6 separate regions of the Homo sapiens genome follow, and regions 2, 3, 4, 5 and 6 are each linked to region 1. The links are contacts of gene promoters, found by promoter capture Hi-C in human tissues and cell types (Jung and others, 2019). All regions are on one chromosome and are shown on one strand. The core of a region is centred on a gene start or on the middle of the fragment in contact, and the rest is flanking DNA. Distances in the headings are between cores, read along the strand shown. Region 1 holds the start of MIDN (midnolin). Region 2 holds the start of HCN2 (hyperpolarization activated cyclic nucleotide gated potassium and sodium channel 2). Region 3 holds the start of BSG (basigin (Ok blood group)). Region 4 holds the start of ATP8B3 (ATPase phospholipid transporting 8B3). Region 5 holds the start of KLF16 (KLF transcription factor 16). Region 6 holds the start of PRSS57 (serine protease 57).

Evidence for each region. Contacts are between HindIII fragments. The study calls those that stand out against the background at their distance.
Region 2: a contact is called between the fragment with the promoter of HCN2 here and the fragment with the promoter of MIDN in region 1, in 1 of the 25 tissues and cell types used here (lymphoblastoid cells).
Region 3: a contact is called between the fragment with the promoter of BSG here and the fragment with the promoter of MIDN in region 1, in 3 of the 25 tissues and cell types used here (dorsolateral prefrontal cortex, lymphoblastoid cells and small bowel).
Region 4: a contact is called between the fragment with the promoter of ATP8B3 here and the fragment with the promoter of MIDN in region 1, in 1 of the 25 tissues and cell types used here (heart left ventricle).
Region 5: a contact is called between the fragment with the promoter of KLF16 here and the fragment with the promoter of MIDN in region 1, in 4 of the 25 tissues and cell types used here (dorsolateral prefrontal cortex, lymphoblastoid cells, spleen and 1 more).
Region 6: the fragment with the promoter of PRSS57 here is called in contact with the fragment with the promoter of MIDN in region 1 in 2 of the 25 tissues and cell types used here (IMR-90 fibroblasts and lymphoblastoid cells).

Annotation. Positions count from the first base shown.
Region 1 is chr19:1,245,885-1,249,876 of GRCh38, reverse strand. It overlaps MIDN (midnolin), which reads right to left and starts at 1,294. Exons shown (of 9, transcript NM_001388306.1): 1 at 1,217-1,294. LOC102723811 (a long non-coding RNA gene) reads left to right here and starts at 1,805. Exons shown (of 2, transcript XR_007067082.1): 1 at 1,805-1,864; 2 at 2,016-3,609. RefSeq lists silencers at 71-540, 571-690, 751-1,210, 1,301-1,840 and enhancers at 684-1,217, 3,153-3,898. The HindIII fragment of the contact is 34,576 bases long and covers 1-3,992 here.
Region 2 is chr19:588,631-592,889 of GRCh38, reverse strand. HCN2 (hyperpolarization activated cyclic nucleotide gated potassium and sodium channel 2) reads right to left here and starts at 3,009. Exons shown (of 8, transcript NM_001194.4): 1 at 2,313-3,009. The coding sequence starts at 2,944. It also overlaps the pseudogene LOC100420586. RefSeq lists an enhancer at 4,240-4,259. The HindIII fragment of the contact is 14,322 bases long and covers 1-4,259 here.
Region 3 is chr19:570,070-574,376 of GRCh38, reverse strand. It overlaps BSG (basigin (Ok blood group)), which reads right to left and starts at 1,781. Exons shown (of 9, transcript NM_001728.4): 1 at 1,676-1,781. The coding sequence starts at 1,742. It overlaps BSG-AS1 (BSG antisense RNA 1), which reads left to right and starts at 2,129. Exons shown (of 3, transcript NR_184018.1): 1 at 2,129-2,268; 2 at 2,781-2,937. RefSeq lists silencers at 1,441-1,620, 1,791-2,010 and enhancers at 2,831-2,880, 2,961-3,533. The HindIII fragment of the contact is 13,063 bases long and covers 1-4,307 here.
Region 4 is chr19:1,810,168-1,814,550 of GRCh38, reverse strand. ATP8B3 (ATPase phospholipid transporting 8B3) reads left to right here and starts at 2,275. Exons shown (of 29, transcript NM_138813.4): 1 at 2,275-2,365; 2 at 2,667-3,062; 3 at 3,868-3,929. The coding sequence starts at 2,815. RefSeq lists enhancers at 1,482-1,641, 2,022-2,767 and a silencer at 2,192-2,561. The HindIII fragment of the contact is 30,703 bases long and covers 1-4,383 here.
Region 5 is chr19:1,860,946-1,864,917 of GRCh38, reverse strand. KLF16 (KLF transcription factor 16) reads left to right here and starts at 1,339. Exons shown (of 2, transcript NM_031918.4): 1 at 1,339-1,877. The coding sequence starts at 1,421. RefSeq lists silencers at 1-196, 267-1,366, 1,697-1,876, 1,927-2,096, a promoter at 246-1,450 and an enhancer at 2,911-3,796. The HindIII fragment of the contact is 11,768 bases long and covers 305-3,972 here.
Region 6 is chr19:692,547-696,902 of GRCh38, reverse strand. PRSS57 (serine protease 57) reads left to right here and starts at 1,451. Exons shown (of 5, transcript NM_001308209.2): 1 at 1,451-1,551; 2 at 1,936-2,089. The coding sequence starts at 1,473. The HindIII fragment of the contact is 19,970 bases long and covers 1-4,356 here.

The sequences.
Region 1 (3,992 bases), core at 45-2,544:
TAACAAGAAAAAAAAGTTATAATGTATCAACGTTCCAGGGGGCGGGGCCGCCGCCCCCTCCCATTCACTACTTACTCCGCCGGCCGGGCGCCGGCCAATCGCCGCGCGCCGAGCGCCCAGTCGGCCGCGAGCCCGGGCCTATGAGAGCCGCCGCGGCACCGCCCCACGTGGCAGCCGGGCCCGCCCCCTCGCCCCGCCCCCAGCGCCCAGGCGACCAAGGGGAGCGCAGCGGGGGCGGGGCTGGCGCCTCTCCGCGCCCGCCCCCGCCCCGCCCGCGCCCGCAGCCATTCATAAGCGCCCGGAGCCCGCAACAAAGGGCGGGCGCGCCCCGGGGGGCGCGGGACCCAGGTCTGGAGACGGGTCTGGTACCCCTCGCGATCCCAAGGGAGCGGCCGGGAGCGGGAGGGGGCGCGGGCCATTGTTCCCGGCGCCGGGAGGGGCAGGAAGTCGTGGGGCCACCCCGCCGCCTTCGTCCGGGAAAAGCCGCGAGCGGAAGCGGGAGCGCGAAGTCCGCGCCTCGTGGCCGGGGTCCCGGGGCGGGCGGGCGACGGTGAGGCTAGGGCCGCGGCCCCGGGGAGGGCGTGGTGCGTGGGGGCGGAGTTGTGGCCGGGGCGGGGCGCCCGCACCTCGGTGACGTGGCCGGGTGGCTGCCGCCGGGGGCCCCGCGCGCCCACCCGCCGGCCGCGGGCAGAACCCGTTTCCCCGAGGCGCGCCCGCTCGAGCCGTGACGTGACGCGGCGTCCCCGGCTGCGCCCGCGCGCGCTCGGGGATGCGGTGAGTCAGCAGCTCGGGCGCGCCCTCTGCCGGGCCCGCCTGGGAGCGCCGCCCGGAGTCCCGGGGAGGGGGCGCCGCGCTGCCCCTGGCAGGGGAGGAAGACGACTGGGCTGCGCGCGGGGGAGGAACCCCGATCGGGAACGAAAGACTGTAGTCGGGAGACTGGGACCGTGTGGCTGGGCAACGGAGGGCGGAACGGCAACCAGTTCAAGGTCACCCGCGGTGAAGGGGGAGTGCCCCGGGGGGCGGGGCGGGGGCTGAGGTCCGGCCAGGGCGGCGCTGGCTGCGCGGAGCCCCTCCCACCCCGCACCCCGGGGGGCTTCCCAGGACCGGAGGCTCCCCGATCCCTCCTGTCCCAAGAACAAAGAAAAGTGCGGGCATCCTGAGCCATCTAGAGTGGGCACCCTTCCTCGGCCCGCAGGTCCCCCCCCTCCACACTCACCGGGCGCGGCCGGTTCTGCGCTCCAAGTGCTGCGAGTACCTTCGTCCGGGGCCGAATGCGCGCTGGCCGGGCCGGTCTGGGCCAAGCGCGCGGCCCTCAGCCTTTATCCGCGCCGCCTTCCCTCGGGGTGGAGTTAGGGCGGGCAGGGGGGCGGGGGGCCGGGCGGGCGGTGACGCAGACTGGCCCCCGCCCCTGCCTGCCGGCCCTGGCCCTGGGGCGCCTTGACGGCTGGGCCACCCGGGACCCAGGCTTGGCGCAGTTCATGGGGGGACTCCCCTTGAATGCCCCGAGCCAAGGGTCTCGGCCCGCCTCGCCGCGGGCTGAGATGCACCCCGAATCGTCAGCGGGACAGGGTTTTGGGGTGTACAGCGCGACTCGCTGCCCCGCCCCCTTCCTGTCGCCCCAGGCCCGGTGCTTCCGCCTGGGGGCGCCCGCGTGGGGGGGACGGGAAGAGGGGCCTGAGTCAGCGGCTGTCGTCCAGGAAAACAGGCTGGAGTCACCTGCCGTAGAGTGGGGGTGCCCTGGCCAGCCCTGGCCTCCTGCATCTGTCAATGGTGACCTCAGAGGGCATTTATGGAGCGATTAGCCAGTGCCAGGCCTGCCTTGTGCCCAGCCAGTCACCAGCCGGCTATGCTGTGACCCCGGGAGGTAACTGGCCTCTCCAAGCCTCAGTTTCTCCAGGGTGGGTGGGAGTGTGGTGAGGGGATGCGGCAGGATCACTTTGGGGCCATCACCCCCCATTAATGCAGGACATGCACTGGTTCCCAGCCTTTGGGGTGGGCATTACCCCATTTTACAGATGAAGAAACTGAGGCCACAGCCAATGAGACACGAATGTGGTGTGCATCTCACCCTTCCCCGTCGGCTTTTTGAGGATGGTCCTGGTTGAGGTGGGCCCCGTCCTGCCCCTCTATTTAGAGAAGGGGACCCCATTCCTACGGGAGCACCTCCTGTCCACTCATCTGGCCCCTCCCTTTATCTGGCCTGACCACCTCCACCCCCACCCTGGCCATGGGCGCCCCTCCCAGGGCTGCGCTCCTCCCCAGGTCTCCTTCCGGCTGCCACCCATGCTCCCGGCAGCCGTGGCCCCCACCTTGACAGGCACACCCAGCCCCGAAGGGTCAGGGCTAGGCCAGAGAGGGAGAGGCTGGGATAACCCTTGGAAGGGGGTCACAGGGGCTGCGGTTTGAGGAATGACTAGGAGTTTGTCACATAAAAAAGATGATGCGGTCGGGCGCGGTGGCTCACGCCTGTAATCCCAGCACTTTGGGAGGCCGAGGCGGGCGGATCACAAGGTCAAGAGATTGAGACCAGCCTGGCCAACATGGTGAAACCCTGTCTCTACTAAAAATACAAAAATTAGCTGGGCATGGTGGCATGTGTCTGTAGTCCCAGCTACTCAGGAGGCTGAGGCAGGAGAATCGCTTGAACGCGGGAGGCGGAGGTTACAATAAACCCAGATCGTGCCAGGGCACTCCAGCCTGAGCGACAAAACGAGATTCCGTCTCAAAAAAAAAAAAAAAAAAAAAAAAGGCCGGGCGCGGTGGCTCATGCCTGTAATCCTGGCACTTTGGGAGGCCGAGGCGGGCGGATCACGAGGTCAGGAGTTCGAGACCAGCCTGATCAACATGGTGAAACCCTGTCTGTACTAAAAACACAAAAATTAGCCAGGCGTGGTGATGTGCGCCTGTAATCTCAGCTACTTGGGAGGCTGAGGCGGGAGCATTGCTCGAACCCGGGAGACGGAGATTGTGGTGAGCTGAGATTGTGCCATTGCACTCCAGCCTGGGCAATAAGAGCGAAACTCCTCTCAAAAAAAAAAAAAAAAAAAAAAAAAAAAGACGATGGTCCAGGAAGTGGGAATGGCTTGAGCAGTTCTGGGAGCTTAGTGAACTGGACCCAGTTGGAGGGAGGAGGGGCAGGGTCGATGAATGGGGCTTGGATGAAGGGCTGGGGCCCCAGGTGGGAACTACAGGGCCAGGCTCATTCTGCTTCCAGTGAGAACAAAGGTGGCGGAGGGAGCCGTGGACTGGTGCCAAATGAGCAGCCCAAGCAGGACACTGGGGCCCCCTGTGAGTGGCCAGCAGCCCCCACCTCCCTCCCTGCCTCTTGCCTCTCGTGTGTGGCTCTGCCACCTGCACACCGTCACCTCAGTCTGGTCGGGAGTGGAATGGACACCGTCACCTCAGTCTGGTCGGGAGTGGAATGGACACCGTCACCTCAGTCTGGTCGGGAGTGGAATGGACACCATCACCTCAGTCTGGTCGGGAGTGGAATGGGACACGGGTTGTCGGAACTTGCTGGGCTTCACAGGGGCCACTGTGTGGCCCTTTGGGGACCAGATGCCCAGAGCCAGTCTAAATGAATAAACATGCTAAAACGCTTCCCCACCATTTCCCATACTCGGCGTCCCCATGGTTGAGTGGGTTGTTCCTGGGTGTGATGGGGACAAACCCTGTGCTCTGTTCTGCCTCACTAAGCCAGGGGCTGCCCTCACTGAAGGGCCTTGACCGCCTGGTTCCCGGCCCCACCCTGACTGCCTCCTGCTCCAGGACGCATCCAGCCAGCACGGGCTGTTCCCTCCGAGTGTCAGGTGTCTCGGGTGTCCTGAGGCCTGGCTCCAAGGTTCACACCCTCCCTGGTGGTGGGGGCAGGGGAGGTCCCCGGAGTGAGCAGCTCCTCCCGCTGGGCCCCTGCTAAGTCCCAGCTGTGCCCTTGGTCTTATTTATAGGGTCCTGGTGGCCTGGCAGGAACTTGAAGACCTGGGGCTGGAACT
Region 2 (4,259 bases), core at 1,760-4,259, 660 kb after region 1:
GGGCCCGAAGCCAGTTGGGGCCAGGCTCCTGAGTCAGCTGCAAACGTAGAGGCCCCTTCGCTTGCTGTGGGCTGCCCCAAAACACCCTCCACAGCAGGGTCCGGCCGCCTGCTTAGGGAGCTTTTGAGATATTCTTGGGGGTCTTTTTCCACACTGATTCCACACTGGCACAGGTCCCAAGCCTGGGGAGGGTCCTAGGGGCCCCGTGCACCCAGCTTGGCAACATCGAAATCCTTTTTTAAAATCTGACTGCCGTGACTCCCCTAGTCCCGAAGACAGGCCCCGCTAACCCCATTCCCTGCCTGCTCAGTTCCACTTCAACACTCATCTGCCGGGGTGGGGCTGCACTTGGTCCACACAGGGGCCTCTGAGCCCTCTATGCCTCAGAGCACAGAGCGGGGCCACAGCCTGCCCAGGCCTCCAGGCGACCACGCCCAAGGAGGGTGGAAGGATGAGAGGGCTTCACTCCTACCACCGGCCTTCCCCCCAAGCCCCGGGATCAGCCATCTGCCCACCTGCCCCCCAGGCCACCGACCGCCCCTCTGCAGCCAGGGGGTCGCTGGAGCTGCCCAGGGGAGGGAGTGGCTGGTGTGGGCCTCCACCTGCCAGCCCCCACGCTGCGGTGCACCCATCTCTGTCGAAGGTCATGCTGGAGGGGACGGAGGGGAGTGGGCACGTTCTACAGCTCCCTCTCCACCGCGTCCCTCTCCGGTCAGGGGGTGCCACTGCCCGACTGGAAGTGGGGCCAGGCCGACCAGCAGCCCTGGAAGTCCAGTCCTTCCCGCTCACTGTCCACATTTCGCAGGCCAGAGCCCAGATGCTGACCAAGCTCTCCCGGTGGGGCACAGAGGCAGGGTGGGAGGGGCCGGACACAGCCCCTCTGGGGATTTCGGGGCTCCTCCCACCCCTGGCCTGTCTCGAAATCCAGGCTTCTGGTCAAAGCTGTATTCACCTCTCAGGAAGGCCTGGGGTGGGAGGAGGATTCCAGGGCCTTCCTCCAGGCTCTGTCCAGGACGCATGTGCCCCAGGCCTCAGTTTCTCCAGTCAAGCACTAGGGGTGCAGAGAATCCAGGGGAAGAGAGAACCCCACAGCCTCCCTGCCCAGTTCCGGGGGTCCAGGGTCCGTGGGGGCTGTCCTGGGGCGCCCAGGCCTGGAGGAGGAGAGACAGGCGGGAAAACCGCAGGCTTCCCAGGTCCGGCGCGCTGTCCGTGGTGCTGAAACCGCGCCCGTCCCGCGCGCCCGGCCTCGCTAGCCCGGCGGGCCCCACCTACACCCTCCACCTGCACCCTCCACACCCCACCTCACACCCCACTCGTGGATACACAAACACACACGCATCCCTCCATGGTCGCGTGTGTGAGACCTGCCTGCGGCTCACACTACTGCCCACCGGTGCACACCGGCCCCGGGCGTACACGCGCACGCCCGCCACCTGGTCCCAACACACACAAACCACACGTCCCACCAAAATAAACCCACCGGAGGCGCACACGCCCGCGACCACCACGCAAACACACTCCTGGAGACACACCTCTCCGGCCACAGGCTCGCGCCCCGGGAACCCCGCCGCGGTCACGGGCCCCTGTTCACACACAGCCCACGGGGACACGCGCCGGTCTCGCTCTCCGGCCACAGCACGCACAGCCCAGGAACCACGACCGCAAACATCAGTGGCGGTGGCCCCGCGCCGGCCCTGCTCCGAGCCTTCCACGCATTAGCCGGCTGGATCCACAGCGGCGTCTACACACCCACCGCCGCATGCGCGCACCGCCCGCGGCTCGGGTGGAGCGGCTCCCGGGGACACAGCCTGGGGACCCGCACGCTTTCCAGGCCCGCGGCCCCGGGCGCGCCTCCTCGCAGGCGGGGCGCGGGTGGACGCCGTGGGAGCCGCTTAACCCCCTCTCCCCCGGCCTCCCTGGGGCGCGTCCTTCCCGGGCGCCCTTCGTTCCTCCTCCCTCCCGCTCCGCCGCCTCTCTGGGGCCCACGTTCCCCTCTATTCGTCCTCTCTGCCCCTCTGCGCTCAGACCCTGGCCCTGCGGCCCACCCCACCCGCCGCGCCGCAGGGCGGAGGATGTCGGGGTGCGTGGGAGGGGGGCGCTCCGCGGTCACCCGGGGAGCCCCCCCAGAGGCGGAGCCTCGCGCGCCGGGGTCACTCCGGGGCGGGTCCCGGACACGCCCGAGGTCACCGAGGAGCCCCGAGGTCACCGGCCCGGCGCGCCGCCCCGCCCTCCCCAGGCGCTCCAAGGACGGCTCCCCGCGCGCCCGGCTCCCCGGGCCCCCTCGCGCCGACCGGCCCTCCCGGAGGCGGTACCTGAAGTCGCTGTACGGGTGGATGATCCAGGCCCCCGCCGACTTGACGCGCTCCTGCTCGCGCTCCACGGCCTTCTGGCTGCCGAACATCCGCAGCGAGAACTTGTTGACGCCCGGCTGCAGGAGCGCGCCGAACTGGCGCTGCATGAAGCTGGCCTGGCTGCCGCGCGGCTCCCCCGCCGGGCCCGCCTCCTCGCTGCCCGCCTCCTCCGCCGGCCCCGGCCCCGGCGCGGGCCCCGAGGCCGCCCCGCGGCACGAGAACGACACCTTGGGCCCCCGCGCCGGGCCCTCGGGCCCCGCGGGGCTGCACTGCGGCTCGCCGCGCCCGCACTCGCCGTTCGGGCTGCCCTTGGCCGTGCTCGCCGCGCCCGGGGTGCCGGGGCGGCCGCACGAGCTGTCGCGGCTGCGGAGCCGGCCCCGCGGGCCGCCCTCATCCGCCGCCTCCGGGGGCAACGCCTCGGCCCGGGGCGGGTGCTGGGGGGGCGCGGGCCCGGGGCCCGGGGGGGGCGCGGGCGGCGGCGGCGGCGGCGGCTGCTGTTGGGGGGGCGCGGGCGGCGGCGGCGGCGGCGGCCCCGGCGCGGGGGTCGCGCCCGGGCTCTCCCCGGGCCGCCCGCCGCCCCCGCGCGCGTCCATGGCGAGGCGGCGCCGGGCAGTGCGGAGCGGAGCCGCCGCCGCCGCCGCCGGCCGGAGCCCGAGGGAGGGGGGAGGCGGGGGCGGGGCGGGGCGGAGCCGCGGGGGGCGGAGCCTCGCGGCGGGGGAGGGGCGGGGGAGGGGCGGGGGCGGGAGACCCGCCTCGGCTGCGCCCCCTCCCCGCGCGCCGCCTCCGCTCGGCGCCGGGAAACTCGGGCCGCGGGGTCGGGGGCGCCCCAAGGTCACGCGGCCCGAGGCCTCGGAGCCCCGCGCGGGCCTCTCCCCAGGAGGGGAAACTGAGGCCCGCGACGTGTAAGGACGCGCCCAAGGTCACCGGGCCCCGCTGCCCGGCCGGAGCCGCCTCTCCTGCGCCGCGGCTTCCACCTCTGTCCGGAGGGCACCGGCGCGGGGAGGGTGGACGCGGGCCTGGGAGACGGGAGAGGCCGCCACGGCCAGCGCCTCCTTGCTTTCTGTGAGGTTTGAAGACTTCCACGACGAAAGGGTGTTTCTAAAGGTCACAGGAGCCCTTGCTGGGTCGCCTGTGGGCCCTGGACAGAGACCCTTGAGTGCGTGGGGAGGGGCAGGCCGGCTTGGGCGCCGTTCTGGGAGACTCAGGCACTCCTCTCCCTGGTCTGCATTTGAGGAAACTGAGGCCAAGCCCAGCCAGACAAGGAAAACTGGAAAAGCCACCCGAGGGTGTGGGGTTCCCACCCACCCCTCAAACAGTGCCCTGGGGAGCCGTGCGGCGGGGGTCTCCTCTAGGTCTGGTGGGCTTTAGATTGGGGTCACAGGGAGACCCAAAGCCCACTAGCGCCTTCGCACGGGTACCAGAGCCCCCTGCCCCGGGGTTGCCTCCTTTCCCCGACCCCTCGGACTCCGGGTGCAGCTGTGCCCCCAGTGCCTCCAGTCCCCAGCTCTGAGACAGGTGCTTCCCAAGGCTCTGCTTCTGGGCCGAAGCCGGCTGGGCGTGGGTGCTGCTTGGTGCCAGGTGACATGAGGCCTCTGTCCCTAGCCACCCAGCCCACCAGACAGCCGGGAGGGGGCAGGTGAGGAAGCTGGCAAGTGAGAGAGAGGAGACAGACAGTCACACTCGAAGAAGTGGAGGCTGAACATCCCCACCTGGAGGCAGGAGGCCCTCCTGGGACCCTCCTGGCACCTGGCCTGACGTCCTCTCAGCCACGATGTCCCGTGTGCCGGGTGCCCCCCACCCATCTGCACCTCGAGGCCACCGGGGCAGAGATGGCCCTCTTCCTACACCCAGGAGGCACTCAGTGGTACTTGAGGGAGGGCCAGCATGTGCCCGGCTGACAGTGGATGG
Region 3 (4,307 bases), core at 532-3,031, 680 kb after region 1:
TTTCACCGTGTTAGCCACGATGGTCTTGATCTCTTGACCTCGTGATCCGCCCGCCTCGGCCTCCCAAAGTGCTGGGATTACAGGCGTGAGCCACCATGCCCGACCTCTTTTTTTTTTTTTTTTAAAGACAGAGTCTCCCTGTTACCCAGGCTGGAGTGCAGTGGCATGATATCAGCTCACTGCAACCTTCACCTCCCAGGTTCAAGCGATTCTCTTGCCTCAGCTTCCTGAGTGGCTGGGATTACAGGCGTGCGCCAACACGCCCAGCTAATTTTTGTATTTTTAGTAGAGATGGGGTTTCACCATGTTGGCCAGGCTGGTCTTGAACTCCTGACCTCAGGTGATCCACCCGCCTCAGCCTCCCAAAGTGCTGGGATTACAGGTGTGAGCCACCACGCCCGGCCTCACTATAAATCTTTAACCCAGAACCAAATGGGGGTCTCAACAAAGGAAGAAATTTTCTATGAAGCAAGAAAGGATGTCATGCTTTTCTCCCGGAAAAACACACCTCAATCCATTTCCCAAATGCGCTCTCCAAACCACGTTTGCCCACCCTCAACACACGGCCCTCCTAAGACAGCACTGGAAACCGAATGCGGGTCAGAGTCGGCTAAAAACGACTTTCTCACTATTTCCTGCGCTGAATCGGGTGGCCAGGGCCCCCTCACTGTGACCTTGGAACCTCGACTTCCCACAGGGCTGTTTCCTCGCCTGTAAAGGAGGAGGGGCGTTCAGAGACCACCTCATTCTGGGTGCTGAATCCAGGCAGAATCAGAGGGAGATTCCGCCTTCCCTTCCACGCAGGGCCCCTCGAGGGAGCCTGCGAGGTCTTAAGAGTCTGGGAGAACACCCGGGGGCAGGTGCACGCCCTAGGCAAGACGCCAGGGCTAAATCCCGTGAAGAACGGTAATCCCTTCCCGATCCGGAGGGCTGACCCACTCAGAGCCTCCATGTGCTCTTGGAGGACAAAAGCCCCTTTTCCAGAAGGGAGCGCCAAGATGATCGCTCCAGGCCGCACGGGCCCTTGCGGGGGCCCCAGAGAGTCTCAGGGGAGGGTCTCTGACCCTAACACTCGCAGGCAGGGTGGACCCGTCTCCAGATTCCACGCCCAGGCCGCTTTCCCCAGGTCCTGCGGAGTCCAGCCCCAGCAGGACGGGTTGGGCAGGCACCAACCAGCCCCTGACCCCTGGCTCCAGGCCAAAGGGGACGCTCACCCAGGCTTTGGGTCTCCCTTCTCCTGGCCGATGGGACCGGCGGGCGGGCCACCTCCAACCGCCTTCGCAGACGCCCTCACCCAGGAAGCAGGTCACCCCCAACCCCAGGTGACCGAAAAGCAAGACGCCCACCTCCCCTGACCAAGACCGGCCTGGCCAGGACCCCCTGGCTCCCGCCTCCAAGCAGGGAGCTTCACGCCCACACACAGAGGCCGGGCTCGAGGCCGGAGCGCCCGGGGGAGCCCGGCAGGCCGCGCCGGGAGGAACCTCTAGTCCCCCCTCAAACCCTGGGACTTCACCCCCAAGCTCCATGCTGGCGCGGGAAGCCCCCGGGGCCGGCCTTTCGCACCCCAGGCCGCCCCGCGCCGAGGCCCCAGGCTCCCGTCGGCTTCGGGTCGGCACCGCGGCCTCCATTCCCGGCCCCTGCAGGACCGCACCCCCGCCCCCTACCCGCTCCTCACCAGCCCCGGAGGCTCCGTGGGTGCCCAGCAGCGCGAATCCCAGCAGCACGAACAGCGCAGCCGCCATGATTCCTATTCCTCGCCGGTCCTACAACCTCCAACCGCTGCCGCCGCCGCCCGCGGCCGCTATAAAAAGCGGCGGAGGCGCGGACCGGGCGCGCGCACGCACGGCGTCATCTCGGGGGCGGGGCGAGCGCCGGGGACGCCGGTCGCCCCGCCTGCGCACGCGCGCACACGCTCGCATGTACGCGCCGGCTCCGGCAGGCTCACGCTACGGAATCCGGGCGGCGGCGCACGTGACCCGGCGTTGCTAGGAAACGGGAGTGGGGCCTGCGGGGACGCGGCTGGAGCCTGCGCATTTCTTCCTTCCTGCTTTCAAAGTTGCAATGAGCGCAGAGCGGTGCGCCCGAGGGGGTTGAAGCGTTGAAAGTGTGTTACCCAGATTTTATCTGAGTTAAACACGGGCCGGCCGCTGTGGCTCACGTCTGTACTCCCAGAGCCTTGGGAGGTCGAGGCGGGAAGATCGCTTGAGCCCGGGAGCTCGAGACCAGACGCGGCAACATGGCGAGACGCACATCTCTGCCTTTAAAAATGTACATATATATATATATATATGAACGTATTAATAAATTAGGTGGGAGGAAGTGACCTCCTCCGCCCAAATAAAAATACTTAAAGGGCACTTGAATCTGGATCTCAGAAAATGAATAATTTCTTAGTATAAACGTCCTGTGCACCATTTGGTTGGGACAAGTAAGTTCCTCTTCAGAAACTCAACTTCCAGGTCTAAAGTTGTCAATCAACCTTACCCCCTTCTTCTTTCCTCGCAGGTGGCGCGTTTACCCTATTTTAAAAAAGTTTTAAGTTTTAGCCAACCGGGATCAGCTTAGATTGTGGGCGTCCAACCCCAGCCAACAGGGAAAGGACAGAGGAACAGAAGCTCCCTTCCTTTGTCCCGTGTGCTCTGGAGATTGCATCCCACGCAGGCAGCCCCCTTCCGTACAAGTAAAGTGGTCTCGCTGAGAAATTTTCTAAGTGCTGGTTTCTCTTTGCGGGACCGACTCGCCGCCCCCAAATATCCCATTTGGATCCCATTCTGTTTCAGGAGAGGCTGGCGGTTACCTTTCTTGGGGAGACGCGTCCGACTGCTTCATTGTGGGGGCCTCAGGAGCGGAGGATCGGGTCCCGCCCGAGGTGACGCGTAAACCCAGACTCTCAGCAACGCGGGTAGGAAGGACCCTTGAAGTTCCGCGGCGACCACGGTGAGAAAAGTCGCTATTGGGGCGACACAGGTGGGGGCGTCTCTTGGAGGTTGAAAGTGTGTGTTGGAAGTTAAACTCGGAGTCGCAATGCAAGAGGACCGCAGACTAAGCCGAACGCGAAGGGCTAACTGGAAAGGGGCAGGAATGTGGCTACACTGGCGGGAAGAGCCCGTGGCGACGGGAGGGGGATGTGCAGAGTGGGTGGCAGGTGCCATCTCTGCAGATCAGGACCGGCGGGAAACTTGTTTACTGAGACTCAGACGGGGAGGCCCAGAGGGTGAGGAAGTCAGGTTGGCCTTGGAAGTAGGAAACGAAGAACGAGGGCGCTGAACGAGCCAAACCTTTGAAGAGGAACTTGTGAATGAATGAGACGCGCCATATCTTTTGTGTGTGTGTGTGTTGGAGTCTCGCTGTGTCACCCAGGCTGGAGTGCAGCGGCGCGATCTCGACTCTCTGCAACCTCCGCCTCCCGGGTTCAAGCGATTCTCCTGCCTCAGCCTCCTGAGTAGCTGGGATTACAGGCGCGCACCACCACGCCCGGCTAATTTTTGTATTTTTAGCAGAGACGCCCCATATCTAAAGAAGGGTGGGATCCTCTAGACCACCTTCCCCCACTCACCCCTCCGCCCCTCCCAACCCACCCCCTCCGCCCCTCCCAACCCACCCCCTCCGCCCCTCCCAACCCACCCCCTCCGCCCCTCCCAACCCACCCCCTCCGCCCCTCCCAACCCACCCCTCCGCCCCCCCCACCCACCCACCCCACCCCTCCGCCCCTCCCCAACCCGCCCCTCCGCCCCTCCCACCCACCCCTCGCCCCTCCGCCCCTCCCCCACCCGCTCCTCCGCCCCTCCATCCCTCCCCTATAGAACCACCTGGACCTTGCCACCCACATCCCCGCTGGACAGCCACTAGAACATGCCCCTTCCTCAGGAAAGCTCCAACGGGAAACAGAACAATGCCAAAGGGATATTCGAAACTTTCGGCCGGGCGCGGTGGCTCACGCCTGTAATTCCAGCACTTTGGGAGGCAGAGGCGGGTGGATCACGAGGCCAGGAGTTCAGGACTGGCAGCCTGGCCACGATGATGAAACCTCGCCTCTACTAAAAATACGAAAATTAGCCGGACGTGGTGGCGGGCGCCTGTAATTCCAGCTACTCAGCTACTCGGGAGGCTGAGGCAGGGAATGTCTTGAACCCGGGAGGTGGAGCTTGCAGTGAGCCGAGATCGCGCCACCGCACTCCAGCCTCGGCAACAAGAGCGAGACTCCGTCTCAAAAAACAAACAAACAAACAAAAACCCACAGAACTTTCCTTTTGCCTCCTGCTCAAAAAGACCTGCCTCAGCCCTTTTCCCCTTTAGGGAAGGACCAC
Region 4 (4,383 bases), core at 1,026-3,525, 560 kb before region 1:
CCCCAGAGGACTCCATCCCAAGGCTCCCTTCCCGGTTCTGGGCTCTGCATCTCTCCAGGGCCCTCCTGGGGGACCGTGGTTAGGCCAGGCCCTTCCACCCTCGAGGGCTGTTCTTGTGACTAGTGACTCTCCCACCTCTTCTGTAAAGGAGTTGTTTTCTTTTTCTTCTTTATTTTTGAGACACAGTCTCGCTTTGTCACCCAGTCTCAGCTGGCTGCAACCTCTGTCTGCCGAGTAGCTGGGATTATGGCTGTGCCATCACACCTGGCTAATTTCGTATTTTTAGTAGAGATGGGGTTTCACCACGTTGGCCAAGCTGGTCTCGAACTCCTGACCTCAAGTGATCCACCTGCCTCGGCCTCCCAAAGCGTTGGGATTACAGGCATGAGCCACTGTGCCCGGCTCTGTGTTCTAAATAAATGGCGCAGGCGTGTATGCGCTCTGTTTCTGTGCATTCCCATGTGATGTCTGCCTCCCCCTTCCCAGAACGCACCTGGTGCCTCAGGACATAGCCCACGGGGGGTCCCAAGGCTGGCCAGCCCTGGCTTCAGCCCCCAGGGACTCCCTTCAGCTTGTGAAGCCACCTGTTGCCACTGGAGGCTTCAGGGCCTTTGCACAAGTGCCCTGGGCAAGCTCCTGCCCCCAGATAGTGCCCCCTGCGAAGGCTGGGGTGGGGGAATCTGGTCCTCACAGCTGCACCCAACCAGGTCTCTTCTAAAGTTTATTAGAACAGTGTGTTCAAACTCCCAGCCCCGGCTTTTTTTCGTAACCACTGAGCAAGCAAGCAAGCACAGGGGAAGTGTTGAAGGAATGAAAGGAGAGAAGTCAAACACAGTGGCCTGCCTGCCTGCTTGTGGTCCCAGCTACTCTGGAGGCTGAGGCAGGAGGATCGCTTGAGCCCAGGAGGTGGAGGCTGCAGTGAGCTCTGATCGCACCACTGCACTCCAGCCCGGGTGACACAGTGAGACTCTGTCTCCAAAAAAAGAGAGGTTCCCTGGCAGCCTCCAGGGCCAAGCAGGCTTCCAATTTGGGCTTCCAAAGAAAGAGGGTTTGTGATCACCGAGAGCCCTCAGGTGGTTGCCGCTTTGATGGGGGAGGTGGCTTCCCTATCCCCCTCCACCCATGTTTGCCTCTCCCTTTGGGCCCTCACCCCAGGTAGCCTCACTCTTGGGGGCATTTCATCTTCAGCAGCCCCTCCGCACACACTTTCTGACCCTGGCTCCAGGCCCTATCGCTGGCCTGGACCCGCCCTAGCCTCGTCGCTGAACTCACCCCTGCCACTTCTTCAGTAAGGATCCCTGAGCCCCTGCCACCTGCTGGAAAGAACCCTGCGGGCTTCCTCTTGGCCTTAGGGTGGTCTCAATGGCTATAACCGCCTCTCCCCAGCCTGGTGCTCAGCCCTGCATCTGCGCCTAGGAGGCGCTCGTTGAACGTGTATGGGATGAATGAACGAACCCAGGACACGGATCAGACATGACTTACATAACCGCCGTTACCTGTGGTCCTTCCTCCTGCACTCTGCCACGCTGGCCGCACCAGCCTCAGCCCCGTCAGGTCTGCAAGGCCCATTCCGACCTGACCCAGGCCCACCTTTCCAAGAACCCTTCCAACCCCGCCCTGCGGTGCAGGTTCTTTCTGCTCCCTGACCAAGCCCGGCCCGGCCCTGCCCTGACACCCTCTTCCCTTTCAGGCTCCGCCCCTGCACTGGCACTGCTCCCTAAGGCCCTCCCAAGGCCCTGCCTTCTGTCCTGGACCCACCCTGAGCGCCCTCCTACCCTGACCCTGCTCTGCGCGGCCCCGCCTTCCTCCTTTGTAACGGCTCCGGATCCCAGCCCCGCCCCTACCATAACACTGCTCCGCAAGGCCATGCTCAACCCCGCTTCCCGCTCTGGCCAAGCCCCTGAGTCCTGGCCCCGCCCCTACTCTGACTTTGCTCAGCGAGACCCCGCTCGTCCTCGCCTTCCTTCTAGTCCCTTCCCCAAAGTCCCGGCCCCTCCCCAGACCCAGGCACTGCTCCCGAGCGTCTTCTATCCCGGCCTGTTCTGCGAGGCTCTGCGAGGCCCCGCCCTTCGGCCGTGACCGCGTCCCTGAGGCCTGGCCCCCATCCTGCTCGGCCGTGCTCCGCTCGGCCCCACCCTCGAGGCCCCGCCCCTTCTTCGCCTTGGCCCCACCCACCCCCTCCAGGCCCCGCCCCCGGCCCCCTTCCGGGGTCCGAACTGGCTCCACCTTCGCCTTGGCCGGGCCCCGAGGCCCCGCCCCGAGATCCCGCCCCCCGTTTCAGGACCGTTGGCACCGGGCTAACGGTTCCACCACGTCCGCCGCCCTGGACGCCCGCGGCCTGCCCCCCCCTGCCTCTCCTGCGCCGGTGAGCGGCGGGTGCTCCCACTGCTGTGCGTCCCCGGGAGCCCGCGCACCCTCTCTGGGCTCCACCCAGGCTGAGAGCTGGGGTCGTGGCGGCGGGGGTGGAGAGCGCGCCCCTAGAGGTTCGCGCGGTCGGGGCCCCGGGGCGGGTGCAGACAGCCCTGGACTCTGGAGCCCTGTCCAGGGCGGTCCTGTGCCCCTGCGGCTGCGGGAAGACGGGGTGGGGGGCTTCCGAGTAATGGGGCATCCCAGTTAGTGAGGGGGCAGGAAGCCAGCGCTGTGTCCGTGTCTCTTTCTGCCCCCAGATACACTTCGAGTGGATTCTGGCCATTTGAGCATTCTCTCCAACTCTCCAATCCCCAGTCTGCCCCCACGGGGGTCTCCCCCACCTCTCCCCCGTCCCACAGCCTAAACCCCTCTTCGCCCTGAACCTCCCTTTTCCTCATGCGGTGAATGGGCACTGGCCCCGCTCAGACTCCCAGGAGCACCAGAGCTGGCCCTGAGCCAAGCCCTGCCCCACCAGGACCTGGGGACACGGGTGACTCAGACGTGACTCAGGAAGGCTCAGGTCCTGCTGGCATCCGCGGAGGTGAGACGGTGATCAGAGCTGGGATGGGAGACTCCCCAGGCAGAGGGGCACCTGAGAGGAGGCACAAGGCCCAGCCTGGCCGGGCTAGGAAGTATGAATGGAGACCAGAAGGGTGAGGACGGGTGCATCGGGTGGCCGGAACACAGGGGCAGGGGCTTGGCGGGGAGGGCACTGCTAGAGAGCTGGCAGGTGGGGGGCCAGTTGCTGGCGTCTAGGGGTGGTTTGCCCATCCTCATAGGGGGCCAAACCAGGGCCCCCGGTGCAGGGCTAGAGCCAGACCCACATTCCTGAACCTGCTAGTGGAGAAGATTCCAGGATCTTCTGACGATGTCCGTCTGCCTCCATCGCCCCCATCAGAGTTTGCTGCCCAGCCTGGGGGGGTGAGGAGGGGAGTGGCCATGCCTGACCCTCATGCTGTGTTTTGAGATATAACATATAGCCCGGGGGTCCCATTCAGTCAGTGAACAGATGACTGAGCCCCTAAGCTGGTGCCACATGGGGAGAGGGGCAGGAGGCCGTCAGTGAAACCAGGAGGAGGTGAGAGTGGTCCTTTCAGGAAAAGCGAGGTGTGGGGAGCAGTGGCCGGAGGCTGGCATGGCCAGAGGCTGGCATGGCTGGCGGTAGAGTCCTTCTAGGCTGTACTGGCGGGAGGCGACCAGGGTGGCTGGCGGGGGACACTGGCAGATGGGCTGTTGCAGGTTTGAGGATCATCTTGGGGTCCCCTAGGTCTCAGGATGTCCAAGGCAAGACACACAGCCTATGGCTGGACATTCAGAGCCTGGCGGGGAGGCTGCAGATGAGTGTGGGAGGTAGCATTTGAGAGGGTCGGCCCCTAGGCTGTGAGCTCCTTGAAGACCGAGTGGTGCCCAGCAAGGGCTGGGGTCACTGCTGTGACCCGGGGCCCTTCTCTCCCACAGCCCCACCAGCATGGGCAGCCTCGGCCAGAGAGAAGATCTCCAAGATGAGGACAGGAACTCAGGTGCTGATCCTGGGCAGAGGGGGCGGTGCAGGTGGGAGGGATTATGAAGTTCAGGGCTGGCCAGGCGTGGTGGCTCTCCCCTGTAATCCCGGCACTTTGGGAGGCTGAGGCGGGTGGATCACTTGAGGTCAGGGGTTCGAGAGCCTGGGCAACATGGAGAAACCCCGTTTCTACTAAAAGTACGAAGATTAGCTGGGCGTGGTGGCGTATGCCTGTAATTCTAGCTACTTGGGAGGCTGAGACAGGAGAATCACTTGAACCCAGGAGACCCAGGAGGTGGAGGTTGCAGTGAGCTGCGATTGTGCTACTGCACTCCAGCCTGGGTGACAGAGCGAGACTCCATCTCAAAAAAAAGAAAAAAGTGCAGGGCTGAGGCTGAGACGGGCTGGGGCCCCCAGACCTGCACGTCAGGCCTTGCCTAGGATTCTCATTTGGTTTCTAGTAGTCTCCAACC
Region 5 (3,972 bases), core at 90-2,589, 610 kb before region 1:
CCTGGAGGCAGCTCCGGCCACTGCGCAGTCCCCGCCGCCCCGCCGGAGCTGGGAAGGGGCGGGAGCGCGGTCGCGACCGAGGGGGGCCGCCCAGTTTCTGTGCCCCCGCCGCCTTGGGCCTGCGAACTGGGCCATCCGCGTCCCTGGTGTCCCCCCTAATATTTAACAAGTTGGCCTGGACGTCCTCGCGGCCGGGAGGCCCGAATACCTGGCCTCAGTTTTCCCGTCCGAACCCCAAGAATCGATGCCTGGGAATGGAAAGAGAAGCCCCGGACCCCGGTGTCCCAGCAGGGCGGGGAACCTCTGACCCGCTCAGGCGCCCCCAGCCCAGCCCAGCCCTTTGCGTTCGGCCCCCTCTTCCCGTCCCCCTATCCCGACCCTCTGGGACCCAACCGGCCCTCCCCACCCCCAGTGGGGCGCGCTCTAGTAGCTCCGGAACTGGGTGCAAAAAGAGGAACGAACGCAGCCTTGCCCCACCCTCCCGGGCCCCGCCGCGGGCGCGGGATACCGGGTGTCTCGGCCGGGAGGCTCCGAGGGGCTCTGTGAGCGGCGAGGGGGAACCCCAGAGAAGAGGACGAGCAGATGCCTGAGTGCGGGGTCAAAGCAGGGCCCCAGGCCGGGAGAAGAGGGGGGAAGGGTCGCGCACGTGGCCTGGGGGCGGGGCCGGCCGCTTCCGCACCCCTCCAACCCCGGCCACGTGGGGATCGGAGCCCTCCTCCATCGCGAACGGGGGCGCGCCCGGGGCCAGGAGGGAAGCATCCGGGGAGGGGGCGGGCTCCCGCCGGCCGCGCGCCCCGGCGTGGGGTGGGCGCGCCAGCGAGGAGGCGGGGCGCGCTCTGGGAGGGAGGGGCGTGCCGGGATGGGGCGGGGCGCGCTCTCGGAAGGAGGGGCGTGCCGGAGAGGGGGCGGGGTCCTCGGCCTCCCGCCCCGGCTTGAGGGGGTGGTGCTCCGGGAAAGGGTACGGGGGCGCGCGCTGGAGTGGGGCGCGCCGGGAGGGGGCGGGGCTCCCGGCCTTGCACCCTAGCGCGGAGAAGGCGCGCTCCGGGCCTAAGACGCTAGGCGCTGGCGGAGGCCGGAGTGGGCGCGCCGGGGGGCGGGTTCCTCCGGCCCGAGCCCCGCCCCCGGCGGCCGCGCGCGGCTCGGAGAGTGGTGGAGGGCGCGCCGGGCGGGGGGCGTGGCTGCGGCGCCCCGAGGGGGCGTCCTCCGGGCGGGGCGGGCTGTGGCCGCCCCCGCGGGCTCCGGTGCGTCAGGACGCGTCAGGCGGGGCGGGGCAGGCCGAGCGCGGGCGTCGGCGGCGGCGCGCGCCGGGCCTCCTCCTCCTCCTCCTCCGCCTCCCGCACTCGAGCAGCCGCCGCCGGCCGGACGGACGCCGCTCCCGCCGCCTCCGCTCCGCCCGCCGCGCCGCGCGCCCTTGCTCGGCATGTCGGCGGCCGTGGCGTGCGTGGATTACTTCGCCGCCGACGTGCTCATGGCCATCTCTTCGGGCGCCGTGGTGCACCGCGGGCGGCCCGGCCCCGAGGGCGCGGGCCCCGCCGCCGGCCTGGATGTGCGCGCGGCGCGCCGCGAGGCCGCCTCACCCGGGACCCCGGGGCCACCCCCGCCGCCCCCCGCCGCTTCTGGCCCGGGCCCCGGCGCCGCCGCGGCGCCCCACCTGCTGGCCGCCAGCATCCTGGCCGACCTGCGCGGCGGACCCGGAGCCGCCCCGGGGGGCGCCTCGCCCGCCTCCTCCTCCTCAGCCGCCTCGTCCCCGTCCTCGGGCCGCGCCCCCGGCGCCGCGCCCTCCGCCGCCGCCAAGAGCCACCGCTGTCCCTTCCCGGACTGCGCCAAAGCCTACTACAAGTCCTCGCACCTAAAGTCGCACCTGCGGACGCACACAGGTGAGTGCAGCCGCGATCCCGGCCCTTGCGGGGGCGGCCGCCTGAGACCCCTCCCCCGCCAGGACCCCGAAACTGCGTGGCGCGTGGGGGGCGGGGAGGGGGGCGCGCCCGGGCCGCCGCCGCGCCGGCCGGCAGGGCGGGGCCTCGGTGGGTGGGGCGCGCGCGGGGGGCGTGGCGGCCACGCGGTCGGGCGGCGAGCGGATGGCCGCCCCGGCGGCAGTGGCGGGGGCTCCGGGGGCCCAGCGAGGTCTGCGGGCGGGATTGAGACTCCTGGGCAGACCACCTCTCTCCCTTTCTGGGCCTTGTTCCGTTTTTTTTTTTTTCTTTTGCGTTCTGGTCTGGGCGGTGGGCACCGTGGTTGGAGCATCCGGCTCTGGGGTTCTGGGTTCTCCCCCTCCCCCAGCCTCAGTTTCCTTATCTGTGAAAATGGAGGAGGAACCGCGTCGCCGCCGCCGGGGTGGCCGCGCGGATTCTCCCCAGAGGTCGGCAGAGCACCTGGCGTGGGGCCAGGATGGGGGGAGCCCGGCACGTTTTCTCTGCGTTCTCTGTATTTTAACGAGGGGGAGGGCGAGGCTAGGAGCGCGGGTTGGGGCCTGAGTCTGGGCGGGGGAACTTCATAGTATTGGAGGACCCTCGAGGGGCTCGGGTCCACACTGCTGTATTTCCCTGGCGTGTTTGTTCACCCCTACCTGGCGGGCGATTCGGGAAGGTGCGCGTAGTTGGAGCGCTTCGGCTACACCAACGCCCCTCCTAGCGCAGTCCCCGGGGCGGCGAGGGGAACCGGGAGCCTGGTGGGCCTGGCTGTATTTTTTCACTCCGTCCCCTCCTAGGGTTCCACTTTCTGGACTGGGAGTTTGGACTGGGCAACAGGGGACGGTGGGCCTTGATGGCCGGCCCTGGTTTGGGCATTAGAGGTGCTTGTCCCTTCCGGGGAGGGTGGGGGGCTGGGGGAAAGCTGTGCGGCTGCCCTTGGGCTTGGCATTCTGGCCTTGCCACCAAACAGAAGACCTCTACCCGATCTGGGTCTCAATTTTCTCATTTCTATCAAGAGTGCGATGCTGCCTCTATTTCATAGCCATAGCGGTGGCCGCTTTGGGCAGCTGGACACTCCAAGGAGGCTTGGTCCGTGGGCTCGGATTGTAGGGACACGTGGAGCAGCCGAAGGGAAGTGGGCCGTCCAGAGTGGTGGGGCTGAGATGAGCAGGGGCCGCGAATGCCTTGCGGAAGAATTGAGGGTCCATCTTTGGGGTATGGGGAGCCGCGCTGGGACGCCTGAGGGTGGAGAGCAGGAGGGCGGGTGGGGGCGGTGGTGTGTAGCCTGCCGGCCGCCCCCTCTCTGTTCTGCACTCTTTTCACCCCTCGCTCAGTCCCTGTCCTGGTCCCAGGGGCCTGGAGGCTCTGCCCACCTTGAGACACAGACGGGAACCGAGGGCGTCAAGACAGGACTTGGGTGGGGTCTGCGTTTTCTGCGAGGAGCCACACATCCTCGGCGGAGGGGTCCCAGGGTGTTACCTCTTTTTGAGGGCAATGGGGTCCGTGTATCTCCGCGGGGAGGGACATTGGGGGTCTGTGAAGATGGCGAGGCAGCGTTGGGAACAGAAAGGGAGGTGCCTCTCCGGGCGGTGGGCAGGGGTCCAGGAGTGCCCTGGCTTTTTGGGGGTAAGTTGGGCGATCTGAACAGACGGGGCTGAAGTGGGAGCCTGTTGGGAAAGCGACTCCCACCTGTCTACCCAGGTCATTCTTTTCTTGCCAGATGGCGTGGCCTGAGAGCTCCATTTGGGTTTTCTGAGTTTCTGGGTTAAGTGGACGGGATGGCCACCTCCCTGAGTGGCACCCAAGAGGCGCTTCCATAGGCCCCCGGGTATTGGGGCAGCGGTCCCTAAGCCAGCAGGGAGGGGAGGGATGGGTTTGGAGTCCTGGGAAGGCAGTATTGTTATCCCGGGATTGCAGTAAGAAACAGGCCTGGGGGTGCCCAGTCGGGCATCCCCAGGGGTGGATGCAGTTGTGCTGATGGCGCGCCACCGTCTACCCTGTGTGGTGGGGGAGGGCAGGGCGGATCTCCTGGCACCCTCCCCCACCCCTTGAGCCTGCTGAC
Region 6 (4,356 bases), core at 202-2,701, 550 kb after region 1:
TGTGTGAGCTGCAATTTACGACCTGAACTTTGCCACTAAGAACGCTCCCACTGAAAGGTGAAGACCTGCCGGGCTGGGCGCGGTGGCTCAGGCCTGTCATCCCAGCACTTTGGGAGGCTGAGGCAGGTGGATCACCTGAGGTCGGGAGTTCGAGACCAGCCTGACCAACATGGAGAAACTCCGTCTCTACTAAACACACAAATTTAGCGGGGCGTGGTGGTGGGCACCTGTAATCCCAGTTACTCAGGAGGCTGAGGAAGGAGAATCCCTTGAACTCAGGAGACAGAGGTTGCGGTGAGCCAAGATCGCGCCACTGCACTCTAGCCTGGGCAACAAGAGCAAGATTCCTTCTCAAAAAAAAAAAAAAAAAAAAAAAGGCCGGGCACCGTGGCTCATGCCTGTAATCCCAGCACTTTGGGAGGCCGAGGCGGGCGGATCATGAGGTCAGGAGATCGAGACCATCCTGGCTAATATGGTGAAACCCCGTCTCTACTAAAAATACAGAAACAAAATTAGCCGGCTGTGGTGGCGGGCGCCTGTAGTTCCAGTTACTCGGGAGGCTGAGGAACGAGAATCACTCGAACCCGGGAGGTAGAGGTTGCGGTGAGCCGAGATGGTGCCATTCCACTCTAGCCTGGGCAACAAGAGCAAGACTCCATCTCAAAAAAAAAAAGAAAAGAAAAAAAAGGTGAAGACCCCCATGTACAGCCATGTCCCACTGGACTCCGGATCCCACAGAACGTCAGTGCTACAGGCTGGGGTGCGGTCACTGCCTCATCCTCACCTCCTAGCATGAGGTCTGGTATACACTAGGCACTCAATAACTGCTGAATAAAGGCAGAAATCTGCCAGGTGCAGTGGCTGTCTTCTGTGATCTCAGCACTTTGGAAGGCCGAGGAGGGAGGATCGCTGGAGCCCAGGAGTTCGAGACCAGCCTGGGCAACATAGCAAAACCCCACCTATAAAAATAAAATAAAATAAAGGCAGAAATCATCAGAGCTTCCCAGGAGACCGGCCTTCCTCGCTGTCCCCACAGCCCTGAGGTCGGCCCTGGGTTTGGAGATGGGAAGACTGGGGTTTGCGGGGTGGGGGCCGGAGGCGAGCTGCGGGTCTCGAGTGCCGCTGTGACCTCGGTTCCTCGGAAAGCTCCCCACACATGCTGGGCCACGTGGAGGCTGGGTAAACTGAGGCACAGAAGGGTCAATTGCCTTCCCGAGGTCACTTGCAGCCCCAGAGCTGTCTCCTCCTCTCCCTGTTTCCGGACTAGGGGACAATGATTATTATCAACATGATTATTACCAGCCACCACCTGAGACCATCGATTTCTCAGAAACGCCCGCCTGGGCTCCAGGCGTTGCTGGTGGGGCCTCCCGACCACAGGCCACAGCCAGGCTCCCCCTTTCCGGCCGTTGGCTGAGGGTGGGAGCCACGGCCCGAAGACCTCTGCGGGGAGACGCCAGCCTGCGTCTGCCATGGGGCTCGGGTTGAGGGGCTGGGGACGTCCTCTGCTGACTGTGGCCACCGCCCTGATGCTGCCCGTGAAGCCCCCCGGTGAGGAGCCCCCCGGGATCCCCACCCAGGCCCCCGCCAAGTCCCCGTACGGGGGCCACACCCGGGAACCCCCAGTCCCGGGAGAACCCTGGGGAGAGCTCCACCTGCTCCATCTGCCGAGCCCCCGTGGCTGCCTCTGCTGGAAATGGATGGAAATCCGGCCGGGGTCTCTGCCCAGCCCAGCCCTGGATCTCCCGGGCTCGGGAGCCCCTCCCAGCGCATCTGGGGGGCTTGTCTGGGCTCTGTCTCCAGCTCTCTGGGTCTCTCCGTCTCTAATCTCACCCCCTGTCTCTGTCTTGGCCGCTACTTCTCCCCCTGCCCTGACCCCAGCCCCGTCATCCGTTCCTCCCGCCTCGTCCCTGACTCAGGCCGTCCCTCCAGCAGGCTCCTGGGGGGCCCAGATCATCGGGGGCCACGAGGTGACCCCCCACTCCAGGCCCTACATGGCATCCGTGCGCTTCGGGGGCCAACATCACTGCGGAGGCTTCCTGCTGCGAGCCCGCTGGGTGGTCTCGGCCGCCCACTGCTTCAGCCACAGGTGAGCTCACCTGTCGGGCCCCTTCTTTCTGGACACCGTATCCCGACATGAGGGGGACTCCAGGCTGGTGGGGGAGCTGGGGGCGCCGTGGCTCCTGCAGGAGGGGGAGTCTCAGCAGGGGCTGGATTTAAAGGGCAACAAAGGGAAAACAGGAGGATAAGGCAGGGAGGCAAAAGAAGCACAGAAGAAGCAACAGGCGCAACAAGTACATATTCTGTTACTGTAACTGTCACTATGTTCTTTTTTTTTTTTGAGGCAGTCTCGGTTCCCCAGGCTGGAGTGCAACGGTGCAATCTCGGCTCACTGCAACCTCCACCTCCCGGGCTCAAGCGATTCTCCTGCCTCAGCTTCCCGAGTAGCTGGGATCACAGGCGCCCACCACCACACCTGGCTAATTTTTGCATTTTTAGTAGAGACTGGATTTCACCATGTTGGCCAGGCTGGTCTCGAACTCCTGACTTCAAATGATCCACCCGCCTCTGCCTCCCAAAGTGCTGGGATTGCAGGTGTGAGCCGCCATGCCCTGCCTCGTTTTAAACATATTGTTATAATAACTATTAAAATGTATATTGGGGCCAGGGTGGGTGGGTCCCCTCCTGCAGGAGCCCCCACCAGGCACGGGATAGGTTGGTCCTGGGCTGCAGTGTCCCCAGCTCCCCCGCCAGCCTGCAGTCCCCCTCACGTTGGGACACGGTGGATTGTTTGAGGTCAGGAGTATGAGACCAGCCTGGCCAACATGGTGAAACTCTGTCTCTACTAAAAATACGAAAATTAGGCTGGGTGCGGTGGCTCATGCCTGTAATCCCAGCACTTTGGGAGGCCGAGGCAGGAGGATCACGAGGTCAGGAGATCGAGACCATCCTGGCTAATACAGTGAAACCCCATCTCTACTAAAAATACAAAAAAATTAGCCGGATGTGGTGGCAGGCGCCTGTAGTCCCAGCTACCCAGGAGGCTGAGGCAGGAGAATGGCGTGAACCCGGGAGGCGGCGCTTTCAGTGAGCCGAGATCGCGCCACTGCACTCCAGCCTGGGGGACAGAGCGAGACTCTGTCTCAAAAAAAAAATACGAAAATTAGTTGGGCATGGTAGCAAGTGGCTGTACGTATCCCCAGCTACTCGGGAGGCTGAGGTAGGAGAATCACTTGAACCCAGGAGGTGGAGGTGGCAGTGAGCCGAGATGGCACCACTGCACTCCAGCCTAGGGGAAAGAGTGAGATTCTGTCGGAAAAAAAAAAGTTAATTGTGGTTTTTGCCATTTAATTTTTTTCGTGCAATTACTTTTGCACCAACCTAATATTATCACGGGGCCGGCGTGAGCATTAAATGGATTACTGGGCCTCCATTTCATAGATGAGTGGACTGAGGCCCAGACGGGCAGCCGTCACCCCCATCTCACCCACCCCCTCCTCCCCGCAGAGTCCTCCGCACCGGAGCTGTGCTTCTGTGGTCCCAGCTACTTGAAAGGCTGCTGTGGGAGGATCGCTTGAGCCTGGGAGGTCGAGGCTGCAGTGAGCTGTGATCACACCACTGCGGCCTGGGTGACAGAGTGAGACCTTGTCTCAAAAAAAAAAAAAAAAAAAAGGCCGGGTGCGGTGGCTCACGCCTGTAATCCCGGCACTTTGGGAGGCCGAGGCAGGCGGATCACGAGGTCAGGAGATCGAGACTGTCCTGGCTAACACGGTGAAACCCTGTCTCTACTAAAAAAAAATACAAAAAATTAGCCGGATATGGTGGCGGGCGCCTGTAGTCCCAGCTATTCAGGAGGCTGAGGCAGGAGAATGGCGTGAACCCGGGAGGTGGAGCTTGCAGAGAGCCAAGATTGCACCACTGCAATCTTGCCTGGGTGACAGAGCGAGACTCCGTCTCAAAAAAAAAAATTAAAGAAATAAAAAAAGGAGAATATTGAAATTACTGTAGTTAATATTATAATTGAAATAGAACTTATAATAAATATAATAAGTATTATCTTCATTCTAAATATGTTTTTATAATAATGATTCAAATTAATACCACAACTATTGCAGTTAATTCTATATTGGAGGTAGGAAAAATAATAAACATAATTATTAATTTATTATCATAATATTAAGTTGGGGGCTGGGCACCGTGGCTCACGCCTGTAATCCCAGCACTTTGGGAGGCCGAGGCAGGTGGATCACTTCAGGTCAGGAGTTCGAGACCAGCCTGGCCAACATGGTGAAACCCTGTCTCTACTGAAAATACAAAAATTAGCTGGGAGTGGTGGCGCACGCCTGTAGTCTTAGC